Linked DNA regions of Homo sapiens: regions 2, 3 and 4 are each linked to region 1. Evidence: promoter capture Hi-C in 16 types of primary human blood cells and fetal thymus (Javierre and others, 2016). All regions are on one chromosome and are shown on one strand. Each heading gives the region's core, a stretch centred on a gene start or on the middle of the fragment in contact. The rest is flanking DNA. Distances are from core to core; before and after follow the strand shown.

Region 1 (5,386 bases), core at 1,596-4,095:
TTCACCAGCCATGTCCCAGGCTCAGATCCTAATAATGTCAGCACTGGATCTTGTGTGTGTGTGTGTGTGTGTGTGTGTGTGTGTGTGTGTGTGTGGTGTGTGCACCTACCCATGTTCAAACAACTAGACTCCTTATTATATAGCACTCATACATGATGCAATCATCTTAAGATCACAAAATCAGTAAGTTTCTAAGTCATAATTACTTGTATAACAATATGCAGTTATAAAACACTTTCATATAGATGATCTCATTTGATTCTTACACAAATCCCCTGAAGTTGAGGAAGACAATTTTTTTTTCTCATTTTCTAAACAAGGAAACCAAGGCTCAAAGAGGCTGAACAACTTGCTCACAGTCTCGCCAAGTCCTAAGGGACAGCACTGACATTCACGCTTCTGTCCCCAGGCCCATCACAAAACATAAATCTGTGATTCCTCTAAAACTCTTCTTTATATTTAATCATTAATTCAGAAGTTAGTGAGTACTAAGCATTCATAGTATGTATTGCCATTAAAGGCAAGAGCTTAAAAATAAAATCTAGGCTGGGCACTGTGGCTTATACCTGTAACCCCAGCACCTTGGGAGGCCAAGGCAGGAGGATCACTTGAGCCTAGGAATTCAAGACCAGCCTGAGCAACAGCAAGATCCTGTTTCTACCAAAAAAAAAAAATTAAAATTAAATATATAGTTTATCTCTGTCCAACGTATCTGTCTGTTCACTAAGAAACATGAGTTTAGGAATCATCATAGATGATTGTTTTTAAAAACTCAATTATCATTGATGAAAACAGGACTTCAATTTGCTATTGGTTCATTTACCATCGATATTCTCTATAAAGATTTTTTTTTTCAGCAGCCATGTCCCAGGCTCAGATCCTAATAATGTCAGCACTGGATCTTGTGTGTGTGTTACCTTAACACACACACAAGATGTGTTATCTTAAGCCAGTGTGTTATCTTAAGCCAGTACGAGGCAATACACACAGAAAAAAATAATTTTGAGAATAGATCTGTTTGACAACACCTGACGTCTTTCCAGTGGGGGTTGCGGGGACGTAGGGAATAGCAGTGCAAGGTCTTTAAGATAGTGTCTAAAAATCTAAGCTGGGCTGGGCATGCTGGCTCATGCCTGTAATCTCAACATTTTGTTAAGCCAAGGCAGGTGGATCACAAGGTCAGGAGTTCGAGACCAGCCTGGCCAACATGGTGAAACCCCATCTCTACTAAAAATACAAAAATTAGCCAGGCATGGCAACACATGCCTGTAATCCCAGCTACTCAGGAGGCTGAGGCAGGAGAATTGCCTGAACCCGGAAGGTGGAGGTTGCAGTGAGCTGAGATCGAGCCATTGCACTCTAGCCTGGGCCACAGAGCAAGACTCATCTCAAAAAAAAAAAAAAAAAAGTCTAAGCTGAAGGCATATAACTGGTTCAGCTGTAGCTACTGGGCAAATAGTTCATTAAAAATGAACACATAATGTAAACCCCTTTAACTTCTAAACACTTGTGATTTTTTTTAGTGAACATTTTTCTGAGGGGAACTGTATAACCACAGGCTGATAACATCATTCAGTTTACAGAAACATCACCAATTCACAAGAATTCAGCCTCTAGGCTTGTTTAATTTACTTTATGAAAGCTTAAATTGCAGCATAATATATGTGCGTTTGGCCTATTTCAACTATTACTCTTTGTTTTATTGGAAAACATGTTTTACTCTTGCTTACTGATTTGTTCTTGCGTTGGGATCATCTCTCCTCCAGGAGAAAGCATTTCCAATTTTATTATGAAAGATTAACAGGAAAATAGAACTTCCTTCACAGACATTGATGTTCTAGGAATAACTTTACAAAAATATTTCTCTTCTCTGAAAACTAATATTTAAATAGGTGTAATCTGAAACTACCAGAAAAATTCAACAAACACCTCCAGCAAATAAATAGCTGAGTGTCTGTGATGTCCCTTTCCTGGGGAAGGGCAGTATAAAGATGAAAATCTTGTCTAGCTGGAAGGCCGTCACTAACAGGGCTGGGGCGCATAACCCTGTGGAGACATTTGTGCCCGGCCTTAAAGGGTGCGTAGGAGTTTGCCAAGTGGACGTGGAAGGAGGCATTTTAATAAGAGGAAAATAACATGATTGGAAGCGTGGAGGTGAGAAAGCATAGAAGCACTCAGAGTGAGGAGAGCTGGGGCTTGGGCCAGCCCACGTCAGCCCCTGCCTGCGGACCCAGCCTCTTGGAGCCAGGCTCACTCACCCTGCCTTTAAGACGGCCCTACCAGAGGCAGGAGAAGGATCCGCAGCCTCAGCTTTCTGTGGCGCAACCTGGCACTGAGTCACTCATACCAATCTCAGCGCCAGTGGCCAAGCCGCTGCTGCCGGAGGGCCTGTGTCACCCTCCCCCCGTTTCCCTGCCCTCTTCCCATCCTACCACCACCCAAGCTCCCTGGCTTCCTAACAGTGTGGCAGGGATCCTCCCAGGCCCCCATCCTCCTCCAGCCTGAGTTCTTCCTCCCTGCTGTCTTCCCAGTCTTCCCCACTAAGATCCCACCACCCTTCAGACCCGGGCTCACACCAGCTCCTGCTGGCCCCATGTGCCTCGCACCGAATACAGGAGGTCGCACACTGCATCCCCAGACACCAAGTACTGCCCTGCTTGACCACCTATGTTCCCCTGGGCCCACCAGCATGGACTCTCCTTCTGTTACCAGTCACTGCCTGATCCAGGCATGAGCTGCCTGTGTCCCCCGACATCATCCTCCTGGCACCATCCTCTGCTCTTCCTGGCCTTCTTCACTGGGAGCCTTCGGGATCATCCCTCCAGATCAAGTTCTTCCAGCCCCACCTCCCTCCCACCCTGTGCACCCAGGGAAATTCATCTCTTCTGGGTCCCAACCTTGGCCTCGGGAGAGCCCCAGATGCCCCCCTCTGTGTCTACCCCAGTTACTCAGTGTGGTCAGACTTGGGGGTTGTACAGTTTTCTGTCTCATGATTCATTTCCCCAGGCAAAAAGCTGGCTAATAATATCTGGGTGTGCGGGGGAGGTACCAGTGTGTTTCTGTGTTTGGAGGTGAATTTTTTTCTACTTTAGAATTTAATCACTTCTACTTTGAGCAGTTTTTAGCTGAGCTGACAGTAATATGCTCTGCATTGAGTATTTGTAGGGGGTGGAATTAGTCACCACAAATTTCAATTTTTGGACTTTCCTGATAACGCCACAAAGCTGAAAGGCTTCTAAAGCTTGAGCAAAGATTGGAAACTTGACCCCAGGGGTTGATGGTTGATCTTTATAAAAACGACCTTGTGGTCAGTTTGTTCTTTTATGCTTAAATTGTCAAGGTCCCTGTCCACCCCAGGAATTAATGTGGTGATGTGGAAAGAGCACTAGACAAAGGATTTCAAAACTGTCTTTGGGCCCTTGGCTCGTGGCCTTAGCTCTCTGACATTCTTTGCTTATAAAATGTACCCCCTGCCGGGGCGAAGTACAATCCTTACCCATTTTGCATGACTCAACATTTTATAATGGAAGCTTCTATTTTTGTCTGGCTAAATCTTTTTCAAATAAAAATATTTCTTGGTCTGTATATTTTTCATGTCTCAGACATTTTTATCAATACATAATGTCCTAGCTTTTCACATCTTGCAAATGGCACAGAATTGTGAAAGAATACAGCAAAAAGCTAGAAATATACCTGTGTATATAACATTGCTGGGGATTTTTATGTGTGGTTTCTTGTGGGTTCTAGTAAGCACGTTCATTTCATTACCTACAAACGCATAGAAAAATCCAACATAATCCCACACTGATGAGAAGAAGAGAGGGTTGTTTGTCAGGTGGGGTAGTTTCACTTGACTTGAAGGTCTCACCCCGCCCCTCGTCTTTACCATAGCATACGCTTCTAGATGCTTCTGCTGCATTGTCAACCAGACTCTACCAGAACTGTTTTTCAAAACATGTGTTCCTAGGATTTTACCTCCCTGCATTTTTTGCTATATCTATTAAGTAATGCATGTATATAATTAAAAATCAAATAGTCCTATAAGATGTATAATGAAAACCAGCAGTTTCCTATTCCAACCCTCCCAAAGATGAAGTCTGATGTTGCAGAGCCAATCACTTTCAGCGCAGCTAGATGTTTCTTCGGATAATCACCGCGCTATCTGTAACTAGTATGCACAGGCTGCTGTTTCTTGATTTACTGGGGTCATGATCTCATTCTCTTATTCCATTACCTTTACTTCTACTTCCTTGCTCCTCTCCATCTTCCTAAGATGGTCATACCCACATTTGAGATGCATGGTCCTGCTGACGTTGCTGTGACTATATACATTTTGTTGGCTGCTGATCAGAGTAGTACATCATGATTTTGTTTCATTTCTTGCACAACTTAATTGTTTTTCCTGGAATTATTTATTGCCTTCATTTATTTGCCTAGATTTATTTGTACCTATCAAAAATTTCGTATGTGCCAAAATTTTCGTATGTGCCATTAGATCTGCCGCATTCAGTATTACTTTTGGTATTATTTAAATATTAATTACCAGATAAGTATGTCAGTTCCATCCCAACCTGCCCTCCCTTCCCGCAGAGGCCCTCTCCTCTTTCCACCCAGAGCTCTTTAAGCTCCATCGCAGCCTGCCCTCCCTTCCCCCAGAGGCCCTCTCCTCTTTCCACCCAGAGCTCTTTAAGCTCTATCCCAGCCTGCCCTCCCTTCCCCCAGAGGCCCTCTCCTCTTTCCACCAAGAAAGCTCCTGCTCCTAGTATATCTGGGTTCATTACTCTAAACACAGCTTTACTGCAGCTTCCCTTTACTATGTTTCTCAGTTGGGTCCAGTTTTCTTAATCTCGGGGATGCTATTTCTTGATTTAATAACTCATTTTACTTCAAGATGTTCCTAAGTTGCCTCCTCATGAAAGGTGCATGGGAGGGAAATTTTTTTTGAGTCATTGAAGGTCTGAAAAGCTCAGTATTCTACTCTAACTTGATGGCTAGTTTGGTTCTCATATTCATGCTCATTCTCTCTCTCTCTCTCTCTCTCTCTCTCTCTCTCTCTCTCTCTCTCTCTCTCTCTCTCTCTCCTTGGATTGTCTCTTTATTCCTTTTATGAAATTTTACAATATGACTCGGTATGTGTGCTAAATATTTAGTGGATACTTTCAGGCTTAAAACTCCTGTCTTCTATTTCTGGGAATTCTTAACATTTTGTTTCTTTGATGATTTTACCACCATGTTCTGCTTCTTTTCTGGAATGCTTTTAGTGGTCAGATACTTGAACCTCTAGATTCATCCTTTCTATGCGCTTCGCTGTTTTTTCCTCCCTCAATTGCCATCTTTTGAACATTTTTTCTCTGGAAGAGTTCCTCAATTTGTATTCCAGCCACTC
Region 2 (5,386 bases), core at 1,128-3,627, 570 kb after region 1:
AATTTTAAAATGTAAGCCTGCAGCATAAACATAGTATACTATTGTCTCAAATCTTCTTTGTGTGAGATGTTGTCTTCCAGTAAGAATTGGATCTCTAAGAAGAGATAATTAAGTAAAGAGCCATTCTTTACTTTTTAATTCCTTACTATTTAGTATTAAGGCATATAGCCAAACTAGTACTGTAAAGGAAGATACTCCTCATGTATCTCTTCCAGAAAGTTAGTTAATAACAAATTTTAAATTCTCTAAACAAAACTACATGAAAGTTAACAGGCTTTCTGACAAGATTGAAAGGAAGATACCTGACGGCAAAGGAATATAGATTCGTTTCTCAAGGCGTCGTCTTAAAGCCTCATCTATATCCCAGGGAAAATTAGTAGCTGCCAGAACCATAACCATTTTGGAAGGGTCATCATTTTCAGAAGTACCTCCAACACCTAAAATAAGGGTAAGGGGAGAGTGAAAAAGATATTAAGTTGGATTATACCAAATGAAGCTCAGCTATTTAAAGATCAACAACTATTTAGTACAACAATACAAGGAAGCACAGTCTTAATGCCTCCTTAAGACTTAGGTTAACTGGTACCTATGTGAATTTGTAATCCAAAGAAAATGAGTTCTGTAGTATGCAAATATATGACTCAAAATAGATTTAATCGAAAAGCCAGATCTCAAATACATAACAATTTTAAATCTTTTTCAAAGCGTACATAAACTCTAAGGCCAATTTATCTGCATTTATTTTTATTTCAATTTCATAGCTAAAGTAAGATAGTTGTATATACCAAAAGGGTGCCCTGTGTGTGGCCATTAATTCTGACTTGTCACCACTGTCAGTGTACCAAATCTATTACTATCACTATCAGGAACTTCTTGCCACCCCCTCTAGTCCATCTGAAGTTAAGAATACCTATTAAAAGCTTGGGTTAGCACTATGAGTAAAGTTTGACCCACTGGAACTGGAGACACCACACCTAACAACCTCCCGTCCCTGTTCAACTCAAGCTAAACACAGATACCATCCATCTGAACCAGCAGCTCCGCTTTCACCCTTCTGCTTGCTTCATGTTCTTCAGAAGTCCCTCGGCGACTACAGATGGAGTCTATCTCATCAATAAATATGGTGGCTGGAGAATAAAATCGAGCCTAAAGGAAGAAACCATGCAATATCAAGCTATTAAGCTATTATTTCATTTTAAAATAATCTACAGATTAGCAATCAGAAAATAGCTGAGGGAGGCTGGGCACAGTGGCTCACACCTGTAATCCCAACACTGGGAGGGTGAGGCAGGAGGATGGATTGAGCCCAAGAGTTCGAGACCAGCCTGGGCAACATAGCAAGACTCCATCTCTACAGAAAATTAAAATATTAGTTGAGTGTGGTTACACGTGTCTGAGTCCCAGCTACTCAGGAGGCTAGGTGAGAGGATCCCTTGAGCCCAGGAGTTCAAGGCTGCAGTGAGCTATGATCACACCACACCACTGTATTCCAGACTGGGTGACAGAGTGAGAACCTGTCTCTAAAACAAGAGGAAAGAAAGAAAACAACAAAACAGCTAAGGAGCCTGCCACACTGTGCATCTTTCTCTCACGCTAATACTGGGGAGATGGGATAGAATTAGAACAGCTAAAATATGGCTTCTAATGAACCGTTTTTTATTTATTTATTTTTTTTTAAGAGGCAAGGTCTTGCTCTGTCATCCAGGCTGGAGTGCAGTGATATGATTTTGGCTCACTTCAACCTTGAGCTCCTGGGCTCAAGCAATCCTCTCACCTCAACCTCCCGAGTAGCTAGGACTACAGGTGTGTGCCACCACACCAGGCTTATTTTTATATTTTTGGTAGAGATGGTGTCTTATTATGTTGCCTAGGCTGGTCTCAAACTCCTAGACTCAAGCAATCTTCCTGCCTCGGCCTCCCAAAATGCTAGGATTACAATGAGCCACTGTACCTAGTGGGATAATTTCATCTTTAAAGAGAGTCAATACTTGGGTCTTTATGTATAAATATTTTTGTACTTTTTCAACAAATGGAGAGAGGGAAAGAGTGAACTTCATCATCATTAAAACATCCAAGAAAATTCTCAACTAAAATTTTAGGAAGCATCTATCAAAAGCACCTACATCAACAAAAATTAAACTTCAGTCTGTTGCCACACCAAGCAAAAGTGACTAGACTGATTCTTCCCACATACTGAGGTTATGTAGAATGATCTGACTTCAAGGAAAGGCTATGTGTCCTGGGTTTAGCTGGCCCAGGAAGGTACGGTAGAGGACACCAATTGGTTCTCCCTGCACAGCACACTTCTGGTAAGAGAAGCCTCTTTTTCATTTGCAAATCATCCCTTTCTTTCTTTCCTCCCCTCTCCCCTCTCCCCTCTCCCTCTCTCTGTAACCTCTGCCACCCCGGTTCAAGCAATTCTCCTGCCTCAGCCTCCCAAGTAGCTGGGATTACAGGTGCACGCCACCACACCTGGCTAATTTTTGTATTTTTAGTAGAGACGGGGTTTCATCATGTTGGCCAGGCTGGTCTCGAACTCCTGACCTCAAGTGATCTGCCCGCCTCAACCTCCCAAAGTGCGGGGATTACAGGCATGAGCCACCATGCCGGGCCCCTCTCATTCCTATTCCACTACTTCAAAAGAGGCTAACTTTACTTGGAACTCCAGGGGTTTTATTCAGACCTGGCCAATCAGAGCACTCCAATTCTCTGACCAAAAACAAGGAGTTTCGGCATAGGTATGAAACTCAAAACAGGCCAAATATTAATCTTTGGACTTTTGCTGGAACTATGACAAAATGAGGGCTAACTTTGCTGAGAGTTCATTACCCTAAGGACAATAAAAATAAGGCTTGAAAGCTGAGTGCAGTGGTACACGACTGAAGTCCCAGCTACTTGGGATGCTGAGAGAGGAGGATGCAGTATGCTATGATTGTGCCTGTGAATAACCACTGCACTACAACCTGTGCAATATAGTGAGAGCTTATCTTAAAAAAAAAAAAAAAAAAAAAAAAAAGCTGAACACAATGGCTCTTGCCTGTAATCCCGGCACTTTATGGGGTCTAGGCAAGAGGAGTGTTAGGCCAGGAGTTCTAGACTGCCTGGGCAACGTAGTGAGACTTCATCTCTACAAAAAAATCAAAAAAGGCCAGGCGCAGTGGCTCATACCTATAATCCTAACACTTTGGGAGGCCAAGGTGGGCAGATCACCTGAGGTCAGGAGTTCAAGACCAGCCTGGTCAACATGGCAAAACCTCATCTCTACTAAAAATACAAAAATTAGCCAGGCATGGTAGTGCACTTGTGTAGTCCCAGCTACTCAGGAGGCTAAGGTGGGAGGATCGCTTGAGGCTAGGAGGTGAAGGCTGCTGTGAGCCGAGATTGCAACACTGCACTCCAGCCTAGGTGACAGAATGAGACCCTGTCAAAAAAAATAGAATTCATGTCTTGACCAGGATTGGTGACCCATGCCTATAAATCTAGCACTTTGGGAGTCTGAAGCAAGAGGATCACTTGAACCCAGGAGTTCAAGATCAGCCTGGGCAACACAGCAAGACCCCATCTGTAAAAAAAAAAAAAAAAAAAAAATGAGCTGAGTGTGGTGGCTCATGTCCATCATCCCAGCTGCTTGGGAGGCTTAGATGGGAAGAGCACTTGGGCCTGGGAGGTCACGGATGCAGCGAGTTGTGATCATGCTCCTGCATACCAGCCTAGGCAAGACTGAGAACCCATTTCAAAAAAAAGAAGATTCACGTCTTTGTCACTAATAGCATAACTCTATCCTAATTACATAAAACTACTCTGTTTCTTAGAGGCAAGAGTGACGTAATCAGTGAAGCTTAACAAAGTCTGAAGTTTAAAAGGCTGTGGAATTCAATCTAAACACTCTACCAGAACTTGTTGAATTACATTTCTTCTATTGGTACTCTGATTTGTATTGGTGGAAGAAAGAACCTAATCCAAAGATTAGGTCATTAAAATGAAGGCATTTGGTGCAGTTAATAGATCGGAGGTGACCTAAGTTCCACAATAAATTATGATTCTCACCTTTTGGCATCATTGTTACAATACTGTGGTTATCATATTATAACTAAACCTATTGATTTAAAAAACATAATTTCAGATTCCTACAGAAGATTAGTAATGCAGATCCCATAATGTGAGCATGCCCCAAAACTGGTAGATTTGGATCTACATCTGGAGAAAAAGAGACAAAGAGAAACTCTAATTATTCATGTTTGTAAAGAAATCTAGCTTTAAGGGCATAGGACTCATACTCTGGGCAAAATGGCATCCTGCCTAACTATTCCATATACTGGAGATAGTTACAGCTCACTTTCTCCCCTTTTAGAGAGGTAAAGAATCATTAGAGCTGTCTCAAACATTCACCATTTCAAACAGAAGACGAACAAGCTTCTCAGATTCTCCTCTGTATTTGGAAGTCAAAGTTGATGAAGAGACATTGAAGAATGTTGTCTTGCATTCTGTAGCTACTGCTTTAGCAAGGAGCGTCTTCCCCGTGCCAGGTGGGCCGACCATCAGTACTCCCTGTTGCGAATATAATAGCCTCAGCAGAGGATTTATCTGCCATTGTTCTAATTCATAAAAGTGTCATTACTAAGTAGCAAATTTCGACCAACTTATATATAATATCAAGACAAATAAAAGACAAACAGATAAACAGGAGGATACTTTGTCACAAATTTACTCTTCCCGTTAAAAAAGAAGATAACCACATTATGAAAAATTTGGAACTCAAAGATGAGAAAAAGTAGTTTATAATATCAGCACCCTAACAGAGGTACCATTAGCATCTGGATTTATATCCTGATTGTCCTTTTGCTCAGACAAATTAGGTTGTTTAAAAATATAACTTATTCGGCCAGCCATGGTGGCTCACACCTGTAATCCCAGCACTTTGAGAGGCCGAGGCAGGCAGATCACGAGGTCAGGAGATTGGGACCATCCTGGCCAACATGGTGAAGCCCCGTTTCTACTAAAATACAAAAAAAGTTAGCTGGGCGTGGTGGTACATGCCTGTAATCCCAGCTACTCGGGAGGCTGAGGCAGCGGAATCAATTCAACCCGTTAGGCGGAGATTGCAGTGAGGCAAGATCGCACTGCACTCCAGCCTGGCGACAGAGCGAGACTCCATCTCAAAACAAAACAAACAAAATACATATATATATATAATTTATTCAAAGTATATCTATCATTTTGTATCTTGCTTATCACTTAATGTATAAAGGATTTTTACAACTATTCATACATGCAGAGTTACCTATCAGTGTGTTTTCCAAATCCAAGAAAAGCTTTTTTGATGGTCTTTTTTTAGATCAGCCCATGACTTTAAAAAGTATTTATCACATGCAGATATTTCTCATTA
Region 3 (5,386 bases), core at 1,426-3,925, 550 kb after region 1:
TTTGCCTCCTAGTCGTTGCTTTCTACTCAGCTTTTCAACCTCTCCACCTGTTCTGTCTGGGAGTTGGCAAATGCCTTTGCGGGAAGAAATCACATAGGATATTGTACTCACCTCAGGGAGCTCTTTTCTTGGCCCTTCAAGTGCTGGCTGTCTTTAGCTTCTGATGCCTCTACACAGATGTAGGTTTTGTGTGTATGTGTGGGTGTGTATTTTTTACATCTTTTCTAGCAGTTCTTTGCAAGTGGTTCATTGCAAGAGGGTTGGTGTGCTGCAAGCTGATCCATGGTAGCTAAGAAAGGAAGTGCTAGTACTACTGAAATAATAATTCTTTTGTTGTTGTATTCACTGGGAATTGGACGTGGAATACAGCCTGTCTCCTCTCTTATGGCCATCTTTTAGTCATCCCAGTCATTGCACTGAGTTTGTTTCTATGATAACTGAAATAAATGCTCATCTTATCCAGTTACAGCAAGAATCTTCAAAACATTAAATGCAGCAACAACAACAAATCTTCTTTAATTCTTTAAAGAAACTTTTTCTTTAGTTGGTGTATTTGTTTATTGCTGCATAACAGTTTAACCCAGAAATCAGTGGCCTAAGACAATATTTATTATTTCATAGTTTCTGTAGGTCGAGAATCTGAGCTTGGCTTAGCAGGGTCCTGTGGTTCTCAAAAGGCTGCCATCACGTCAGGGCTCAGCTGGGAAAAATCTGCTTCCCAGCTCACTCATGTGGTTGTTGGCAGGAGTCAGTTCCTTCTGAGCTCTTGAACTGAGGCCTCAGTTCCTCACCAGATGTTGGTTGAAGGTCTTCCTCAGTTCCTTGTCACACGAAGCTCCCCATAGAGCATCTCACAACATGGCAACTAGCTTCATCGAGAGGACAAGAGAGACTGCCAGTAAGAAAAAGAGTACTAGCAAGACAGAAGTCATAGCCATTAATAATCTAATTGTGGCAGTAACATTCCATCACTTGGGCTATGCTCTGTTTGTTAGAAACGAGTCACTAGGCTGTGTGCATTGGCTCATGCCTGTAATCCCAGCTATTTGGGAGGCTAAGGCTGGAGGATCACTTGAGGCCAGGAGTTCAAGACCAGCCTAGGCAAGATAGCAAGGCTGTCTCTTTCAAAAGAACAAAAAAAGAAAAAAAAATCATTCATAGATCGATAGATAGATAGGTAACTAACTGACTAGTCACTAGGTCCAGCCCACTTGAGGGAGGAATTGCAGAAATGTCTGACTCCTTAGAGGCAAGGGTCATTGAGGGGCATTTTTGAAAGCCGCCTACCACAGTAAGGAAGTCAATATGAAGGGCTTTGTTGTTTTTTATTTAATTTTATGCTGTATTAGAGGTACTGTATGAGGCTCTTCTCACATTGCTATAAAGAAATACCTGAGACTGGGTAATTTATAAAGAAAAGAGGTTTAATTGGCTCATGGTTCTGCAGGCTGTACAGGAAGCATGGCACCAGCATCTGCTCAGCTTCTAAGGAGGCGTCAGGAAGCTTTTACTCATGGTGGAAGGCAAAGGGGGAGCCAGTATCTCACATGGCAGAGCAGGAGCAAGAGAGAGCAAGAGTGGCAGTGGGGTGCCGTAACCCCAAGCCATGAGGGATCTGCCCCCATGGCCCAAACATCTCCCACCAGGCCCCGCCTCCAACATTGGGAATTACATCTCAACATGAGATTTGCGGGGAACATCCAAACTATATCAGGTACCAAATTTGCAGGCTGAAGAATTGCCACTTGGGTGTATTTTTATGACTGCATTTTCTCACCCATTGAGTCTCCTGTACCTTAGTCTTTGGGCTTACGGACATGCTGACACAGCGCCTGCTGTTCCACGAAGGAGACCCACGGGTGGTAATGGTCAGTTAAAACACGGGGATGGACCATGAGAGAGGGGGTACCTTTGACAGTGGTGCTTTTCAAAGGGCATGAAGGATTAGGCACACTAGAGAGAGGAGCAGCGAGGGGCCAGATGAGGAGCCTGAGGAGGACCAGTGAGAGGACCGGGAACTTCACAGAAGTGCCACTAAAGGTGTGTGAGCAGGAGGCTGTGGACTGAAAACCACGTCACAGTGAGACGAGCTTGGCATGTTGTCTGAATGGTTTGGCGGCGGGGACTAAAGCAGGGGAGAATAGGTAGGTATATCTTGTAATAGTAAGTAGTTAATGAACTAGATATTGAGATATTCCAGACAAAGGAAGTAGCCCTATAGATGCACAGAATCAGACTAAACAGCTGGGTGTGCATTCAGATTGTATATCTGGATTCCTGTTTGGCAAAAATCTTCAGATTATTTGAGGGATAGAAATAAAATGCTCCATCTGTGACAGGTGCATTGGTGTATGTTGTTTTATCTTTTTCGATAGCACTTCTACCTTAATAGAGTAGCCGTTGGCTCTGTAAACCAGCTGCAGCTACTACACCCCGTTTCTACTGGAGCAGGAGTAGAGGTTTCCTAGCTAGAGAAGAACGTGGACAATAGCTAGTCCTACCCCATTATCGATTACCAGAGAGAAATGACAGGCCTCCCCCACCCTCTTTCCCCATTCCTGCTCTCTCTAATAGTAATGAGTCACTAATCGGGGAAAGGATTGATTAAAAAACTCAATGTTCTTACTGCTTGGGCATCTTCTCTCACAGGATTTTGTGGATGGATGAATGTATGTGCTTATTATGTTAAAACGTGGGATTGGCTGTATCTTCTGGCTGGCTTTATAGTTGTGCCATGTTGGTTCCTCATGGCCAACCTGTATAAAAGAATAGGAAAGATGGGCCAGGCGTGGTCGTTCACGCCTGTAATCCCAGCACTTTGGGCAGCCAAGGTGGGTGAATCACTTGAGGTCAGGAGTTAGCAAGACCAGCCCGGCCAATATGGTGAAACCCTATCTCTGCTAAAAATACAAAAAAACAGCTGAGCATGGTGGTGCAAGCCTGTAAACCCAGCTACTTGGGAGGCTGAGGCAGGAGAATCCCTTGAACCCAGGAGGCAAAGGTTGCAGTGAGCCAAGGTGGCACCACTGCACTCCAGCCTGGGCGACAGAGCAAGACTCCATCTCAAAAAAAAAAAAAAAAAAAAAAGAATAGGAAAGATGTTGCTAGTGTGGTATTTCATACAAAGTCTAAAGATCAACACATTTTACCCTTTCAAATGAGTGTAAGCAGTCATAAAGATTTGTCAGATTGTCTTTGTTTTTAATAAATCTGAAACAGCATTGAGGTCAGGGATGAAGAAAGCCAAAGAAATGGGTTTTCAACTGTCTTGTTCCATGTAAATGTCATCAAAATAATCACACTCACTCACAGATTTGGTGGTAATCTTTGTTCAAAGGTGTCACTACTTTTTTTTTTATAGTGAAGAATGAAAATCTTGAAAATTTGGAGGAAAAAGAATATTTTGGAATTGTCAGTGTAAGGATTTTAGTTCATGAGTGGCCTATGACATCTGGTTCCAGTTTGCAACTAATTGTCATTCAAGAAGAGGTAGTAGAGATTGATGGAAAACAAGTAAGATAGTATGTTTATTAATTGGGAATTAAATGATATTTAGATTTGTGCTAGATATTATGCATGTGTTCAGTTATTTTATTTGTTTCCGACTTGATAAGGAAGGTGCCTAATGTTGCCTATATCCAATTATTTAGAATTTTTGTATATTTATTTTAGCATTTGAAATGTATTTTTAAAATTTCCCATATTCATACATGTTTGTATCACTTTAAAATGTACAGACATTATTAAATAGAAAGTAAGCAAAGAGATTCAATTTGGCTCATAGTTCTGCTACCATTTCCTCTATGGTAAATGAAGTCTCTGTGTGTAAATGAAGTAGAATCGAGATTAAGCTTATAATAGTAAGTGTTAAAGCAGGACAGGAATATTATTAAAGTTGCAAGTTAAGTGCCCCAAAGTGGGAGTACGGGGAAATAAATAGTAATTGTTAGCTGGGCATGGTGGCTCACACCTGTAATCCCAGCACTTTGGGAGGCCAAGGTGGACGAATCACCTGAGGTCAGGAGTTCTAGACCAGCCTGACCAACATGGAGAAACTCCTTGTCTCTACTAAAAATACAAAGTTAGCTGGGCATGGTGGCGCATGCCTGTAATCCTAGCTACTCGGGAGGCTGAGGCAGGAGAATCGCTTGAACCCAGAAGGCGGAGGTTGCGGCAAGCTGAGATCGCACCATTGCACTCCAGCCTGGGCAACAACAAGAGCGAAACTCCATCTCAAAAAAAAAAAAAAAGAGTAATTGTCTGAATAGGACACATGTTTTAGTTATATAAATCTGGGAGGAAAATTTGCTTTTAAATTTTTATGGGGCTGTGCTACTATTTAAAATAAAGAATAATTATATTTTCTTTCACAGGTTCAGCAAAAGGATGTCACTGAAATTGATATTTTAGTTAAGAACCGGGGAGTACTCAGACATTCAAACTATACCCTCCCTTTGGAAGAAAGCATGCTCTACTCTATTTCTCGAGACAGTGACATTTTATTTACCCTTCCTAACCTCTCCAAAAAAGGTAACTTAAAAGACCATTATTTAAAGTATTAAGGAGATTATTTATTTAGTTGGTAGCTTTATATACTCTTGAACTTTGTTATTTTTTACACTATTTGCAAAAGTTGCTATTTATCTTTAATAGTTAATATGTTTGGAAATGAGCTTGTTTAAAAAAATGCTTCATAACATGTATTGCTTCATATGTCCATTTAAGGACTTTAGGACTCTATTTGGAGCATTAGTAGAATGTGATCAGTGCTGGTTGCATAGTGACATTTTTCAGTAATTACTCTTACTCTGGGTACTGATCACAAAATATGTAATAAGACTATTGTAAAGGTTCATTCAGAGGAAGAACTATTCATTTTTTCACAGAAACATAGAACTTCTAAAATTTTGGCTTTCTATGTGACAGAATCATAACTGCTTTAGCTCCTTATACGTGTCTTAGTTTATAGTTCTCTTCTGACATTTAAATCAGTGAACATTCAGATGTGTTAATTTTTTCTCCCATGGTAAAATATGTGTTCTTACTATCCTAAATGCTATTGGTATCGTAATCTTAGGACTAGTAGGATAAGACACCAGCATTTTGGTAACGTTGCTCTTTCTCCTGGGTAGAAAGTGTTAGTTCACTGCAAACCACTAGCCAGTATCTTATCAGGAATGTGGAAACCACTGTAGATGAAGATGTTTTACCTGGCAAGTTACCTGAAACTCCTCTCAGAGCAGAGCCGCCATCTTCATATAAGGTAAATCAAGTATTTGGTGTTATCATAAGCATTCATGGTTAAGATGAAGAAAATCGACCCTAGCATTTAAAATGGAGTGGAAATCCTGAAGAATGGAACTGTAGAGCATTGGTGATAATGGAC
Region 4 (5,386 bases), core at 1,355-3,854, 520 kb after region 1:
TGCTTGAACCCGGGAGGTGGAGGTTGCAGTGAGCCGCAATCATGCCACTGTACTATAGCCTGGGTAATGGAGTGAGACTCTGTCTTAAAAAAAAAAATTGCTTGATTTTTCCAAACCCTCTCTTTTTTTCCTTGGATTTGTAATATTTCTCTTAAGGATACACAGAATGTTATCAAACACTACTCTTTAACACTATCTCTAGTCTTCTAATTTAGGATTCTGCTAGGGAAAGATTATATGAGTTATATACACAGTATCAGGCAATTAGGTTGAACTAATGTTTCAGTTTTCTTTTTCTTTCTTGAAAAAAATGTTTTTGAGACAGGGTCTCACTCCTATTCAGGCTGTAGTGCAGTGGGATGATCAGGGCTCACTGCTGCTTCAACCTCGGTGAGTATTGAAGTCCCCCACTCTACTAAAAATACAAAAATTTGCCAGATGTGGTGGCAGATGCCTGTAATCTCAGCTACTTGGGAGGCTGAGGCAGGAGAATTGCTTGAACCCAGGAGGCGGAGGTTGCAGTGAACCCACATCGTGCCACTGTGCTCCAGTCTGGGCAGCAGAGTGAGACTCCATCTCAAAAAAACAAAACGAAACGAAACAAAACAAATCTATGATAAACTCTCTCAAAAATAACCAACCATCTATGATAAACCCATAGCCAACATTATACTGAACAGGGAAAAGTTTAAAGCATTCCCCCTAAGAACTGGAATAAGACAAGGATGATCACTTTCACCACTTCTATTCAACATAGTATTAGAAGTCCTAGCCAGAGCAATCAGACAAGAGGAATAAAGGGAATCCAAATCAGTAAGGAAGAAGTCAAATTGTTGCTGTTTGCTGATGATGTGATCGTATACCTAGAAACCCTAAAGACTCATCCAAAAAGTTACGACATCTGATACACGAATTCAGTAAAATTTCAGGATACAAAATCAATGTACACAAATCAGTAACACTGTTATACACCAACAGCAATCAAGCTGAGAATCAAACCAAGAATTCAATCACCTCTACAATAGCTTGCAAAAAAATAATAAAATACTTAGGAATATACCTAACCAAGGAGGTGAAAGACCTCTACAAGGAAAACTACTAAACACTGCTGAAAGAAATCACAGATGACACAAACAAATGGAAACACATCCCATGCTCATGAATGGGTAGAATCAGTATTGTGAAAATGACTATACTGCCAAAAGCAATCTACAAATTCAATGCAATTCTCATCAAAATACCATCATCGTCTTCACAGAACTAGAAAAAACAATCCTAAAATTCATATAGAACCAAAAAAGAGCCCATATAGCCAAAGCAAGACTAAGCAAAAAGAATAATTTTCTTTTTTTTTTTTTTAGACGGAGTTACTCTTGTTGCCAAGGCTGGAGTGCAATGGCGCGATCTCGGCTCACCGCAATCTCCGCCTCCTGGGTTCAAGCAATTCTGCCTCAGCCTCCTGAGTAGCTGAGATTATAGGCATGCGCCACTAGTCCTGACTAATTTTTTGGACTTTCAGTAGAGATGCAGTTTCTCCGTGTTAGTCAGGCTGGTCTTGAACTCCCGACCTACGGTGATCTGCCTGCCTCGGCCTTCCAAAGTGCTGGGATCACATGTGTGAGGCTGTACCCGGCCTTTTTTGTTCTTTACCTGACTTCAAACTCTACTATAAGGCTGTAGTCACCAAAACAGCATGGTACTGGTATAAAAATAGGCAAATAGATAAATGGAACAGAATAGAGAACCCAGAAATAAAGCTAACAGCCAACTGATCTTAAACAAAGCAAACAAAAACATAAAGTGGGGAAAGAATACCATACAAACAGTGCTGGGATAATTGGCAAGCCACATGTAGAAGAGTGAAACTGAATCCTCATGTCTTACCTTATCTAAAAATCAACTGAAGATGGATCAAAGACTTCAATCTAAGACCTGAAACCATCAAAATTTTAAAAGATAACATCGGAAAAACTCTTCTAGACATTGGCTTAGGCAAAGACTTCATGATCAAGAACCCAAAAGCAAATGCAACAACAAAAAAGATAAATAGATGGGACTTAATTAAACTAAAAAGTTTCTGCACAGCAAAAGAAATAATCAGCAGAGTAAACAGACAACCCACAGAGTGGACAAAAATTTTCACAAACTGTGCATCCAACAAAGGACTGATATCCAGAATCTGCAAGGAACTCAAACAAATCAGCAAGAAAACAAAATAGTCTCATCGAAAATTAGGCTAAGGACATGAATAGACAATTCTCAAAAGAAGATATACGAATGGTCAACAAACATGAAAAAATGCTCAACATCACTAATTATCAGGGAAATGCAAATCAAAACCACAATGCGATACCACTTTACCCCTGTAAGAATGGCCATAATTAAAAAAAAAAAATAGATACTGGCATGGATATGGTGCAAAGGGAACACATCTACACTACTGGTGGGAATGTAAACTCGCACAACCACTATGGAAAACATTATGGAGATTCCTTAAAGAACTAAAAGTAGATCTACCATTTTGATGCAGCAGTCCCACTTTTGGATTTCCACTCAGACAAAAAGAAGTCATTACATGAAAAAGACACTTGCACAGACATGTTTGTAGCAGCACAATTCACAATTGTAAAAATATGGAACCCGCCCAAATGTCCATCAGTCAACGAGTGGATAAAGAAAATGTGGCAGTGGCCAGGCGCAGTGGTTCACGCCTGTAATCCCAGCACTTTGGGAGGCTGAGGCGGGCAGATCATCTGAGGTCAGGAGTTGGAGACCAGCCTGACCAACATGGCAAAACTGCATCTCTATTAAAAATACAAAAATTAGGCTGGGTGCGGTGGCTCATGCTTGTAATCCCAGCACTTTGGGAGGCCAAGGCGGGTGGATCACGAGGTCAGGAGATCGAGACCATCCTGGCTAACATGGTGAAACGCTGTCTCTACTGAAAATACAAAAAATTAGCCAGGCGTGGTGGTGGGCACCTGTAGTCCCAGCTACTCGGGAGGCTGAGGCAGGAGAATGGCGTGAACCCGGGAGATGGAGGTTGCAGTGAGCCGAGATCGCGTCACTGCATTCCAGCCTGGGCGACAGAGTGAGACTCCACCTCAAAAAAAAATAATAATAATAATTAGCTGGGCGTGGTGGCACACACCTGTAATCCCAGCTACTTGGGAGGCTGAGGCAGGAGAATTGCTCGAACCTGAGAGGCAGAGGTTGCAGTGAGCCAAGATCATGCCACTGCACTCCAGCCTGGGTGACAGAGAGAGACTCCGACTCAAAAAAAAGGGAAAGAAAGAAAAGAAAGTGTGATATATATATACACCATGGAATACTACTCAGCCATAAAAAGAAACAAAATAATAGCATTTGCAGCAACCTGGAAGGAGTTGCAGACCATCATTCTAAGTGAAGTAACTCAGGAATGGAAAACTAAACATTGTATGTTCTCACTTATAAGTGGGAGCTATGCTATGAGGATGCAAATGCAAAGGCATAAGAATGATCCAATGGACTTTGGGGACTCAGGGGGAAGGTTGAAAGGAGGTAAGGAATAAAAGACTATAATTAGGTACAGTGTACACTGCTCAGATTATAGGTGTAGCAAAAGTTCAGAAATCACCACTAAAGAAGTTATCCATGTAACCAAATACCACTTGTTCCCCACAAACTATTAAAATTTAAAATTTAAAAATTTTAAAAATTTTAAAGTAATTGACAATAAAAAACACAAAAAAGTAGAATGATTTCAAATAAACAACCTAATAATGCACTTAAAGGAACTAGAAAAGCAAGAACAAATCACACCCCCAAATTATGAGAAGAAAAAGTAAAGATCAGAGCAGAACTAAATCAATTTGAGACTAAAAAATTACAAAGGACCAATGAAACAAAAAGTTGGTTCTTCAAAAAAATAAACAAAATTGATAAACTGTTATCTAGACCAACCAAGAAAAGAATACTCAAAGAAACAAAATCAAAGATGAGAAAGGAGATATTACCATTGATGCCACAGAAATACAAAAAAATTATCAGAGACTTTTATGACTATATGCTGACAAAAACCTAGAGGAAATGTATAAATTCTTGGACACATACAATCTACCAAGACTGAATCAGAAAGAAACAGAAAACCTGAACAGACTAATAATGAGTAACAAGATTGAATCAGTAATAAAAAATCTCTCAACAATATAAAGCCTAGGATCAGATGGATTCACATCCAAATTTGCCCAAATGTACAAAGTAGAACTAATGTCAATCCTCCTGAAATGATTCCAAAAAAATTGAAAAGGAGGGAATTCTCCCTAATTCTTTTTTTTTTTTTTTTTTTTTTTTGAGACAGAGTCAGGCTGGAGTGCTGTGGCATGATCTCGGCTCACTGCAACCTCCACATACCGGGTTCAAGCAATTCTCCTGCCTCAGCCTCCCGAGTAGCTGGGACTACAGGTGTGCAACACCATGCTCGGCTAATTTTTGTATTTTTAGTAGAGATGGGGTTTCACCATGTTGGCCAGGCTGGACTCGAACTCTTGACCTCGTGATCCGCCCACCTTAGTCTCCGAAAGTGCTGGGATTACAGGCGTGAGCCACCATGCCCAGCCCTCCCTAACTAATTTTATGAGGCCAGTGTCACCTTCATATCAAAACCAAACAAGGACAAGAAAAGAGGAAACTACAGGCCAATATCCCTGATGAACATAGATGCAAAATCCATAGAAGAAAATACTAGCAAATCAAATCAGCAGCATATCAAAAACTAATACACCATGATCAAGTGTGATTTATACCTGGGATGCAAAGATGGTACAACATACACAAATCAATAAATGTGATACATCACATCAACAGAATGAAGGACTAAAACCATATGATCATCTCAATAGATGCAGAAAAAGCATTTAATAAAATTCAACATCCATTCTTGAGAAAAACTCTCAACAAACTAGGCATAGAAGGAACATACCTCAAAGTAATAAAGGCCATATATAACAAATCCACAGCTAGCATTATACTGAATTCAAAAAAGTTGAAAGCCTTTCCTCTAAGAAGTGGATCAAGACAAGGATGCCCACACTTACCACTCCTGTTCAACATAGTACTAGAAGTCATACCAAAGGAATCAGACAAGAGAAAGAAATAAAAGGCATTCAAATTGGAAAAGAAGTCAAACTACCTCTCTTTGTTGACGATATGATCTTATATGTAGAGAAACCTAAAAGACTCCACCAAAAAACTCTTAGATTTAATAAATAAATTCAGTAAAGTTGCAGTTTACAAAATCAACACACAAATCAGTAGTTCCTGTATGCCAATAATGATCTAGCCAAGAAAGAAATTAAGAAGGCAATTCCATGTACAATAAATATAAAAAAACCCAAAATACCTA

The links. Contacts are between HindIII fragments. The CHiCAGO score rates a contact against its expected background, and 5 or more counts as called.
Region 2: a contact is called between a fragment that was not itself captured here and the fragment with the promoter of UST-AS2 in region 1, in 6 of 17 cell types (naive CD8 T cells, fetal thymus, naive CD4 T cells and 3 more). The highest score is 7.3, in naive CD8 T cells.
Region 3: a contact is called between a fragment that was not itself captured here and the fragment with the promoter of UST-AS2 in region 1, in 3 of 17 cell types (naive CD4 T cells, activated CD4 T cells and total CD4 T cells). The highest score is 7.0, in naive CD4 T cells.
Region 4: a fragment that was not itself captured here is called in contact with the fragment with the promoter of UST-AS2 in region 1 in 5 of 17 cell types (activated CD4 T cells, non-activated CD4 T cells, naive CD4 T cells and 2 more); the score reaches 6.9 in activated CD4 T cells.

What each region holds. Positions count from the first base shown.
Region 1 is chr6:149,029,816-149,035,201 of GRCh38, forward strand. UST-AS2 (UST antisense RNA 2) reads right to left here and starts at 2,846. Exons shown (of 2, transcript NR_134599.1): 1 at 2,710-2,846. The region is part of intron 7 of UST (uronyl 2-sulfotransferase); the gene reads left to right. RefSeq lists an enhancer at 3,250-3,439. The HindIII fragment of the contact is 1,599 bases long and covers 1,641-3,239 here.
Region 2 is chr6:149,597,205-149,602,590 of GRCh38, forward strand. KATNA1 (katanin catalytic subunit A1) reads right to left here. Exons shown (of 11, transcript NM_007044.4): 7 at 4,390-4,548; 8 at 1,020-1,146; 9 at 303-437. Among named protein-coding and RNA genes, the nearest start is that of GINM1, 34 kb to the left of the region's middle. The HindIII fragment of the contact is 2,918 bases long and covers 919-3,836 here.
Region 3 is chr6:149,575,461-149,580,846 of GRCh38, forward strand. It overlaps GINM1 (glycosylated integral membrane protein 1), which reads left to right. Exons shown (of 8, transcript NM_138785.5): 4 at 3,362-3,513; 5 at 4,374-4,530; 6 at 5,133-5,263. Among named protein-coding and RNA genes, the nearest start is that of GINM1, 12 kb to the left of the region's middle. The HindIII fragment of the contact is 2,347 bases long and covers 1,503-3,849 here.
Region 4 is chr6:149,553,416-149,558,801 of GRCh38, forward strand. No RefSeq gene overlaps it. Among named protein-coding and RNA genes, the nearest start is that of PPIL4, 10 kb to the left of the region's middle. The HindIII fragment of the contact is 7,087 bases long and covers 1-5,386 here.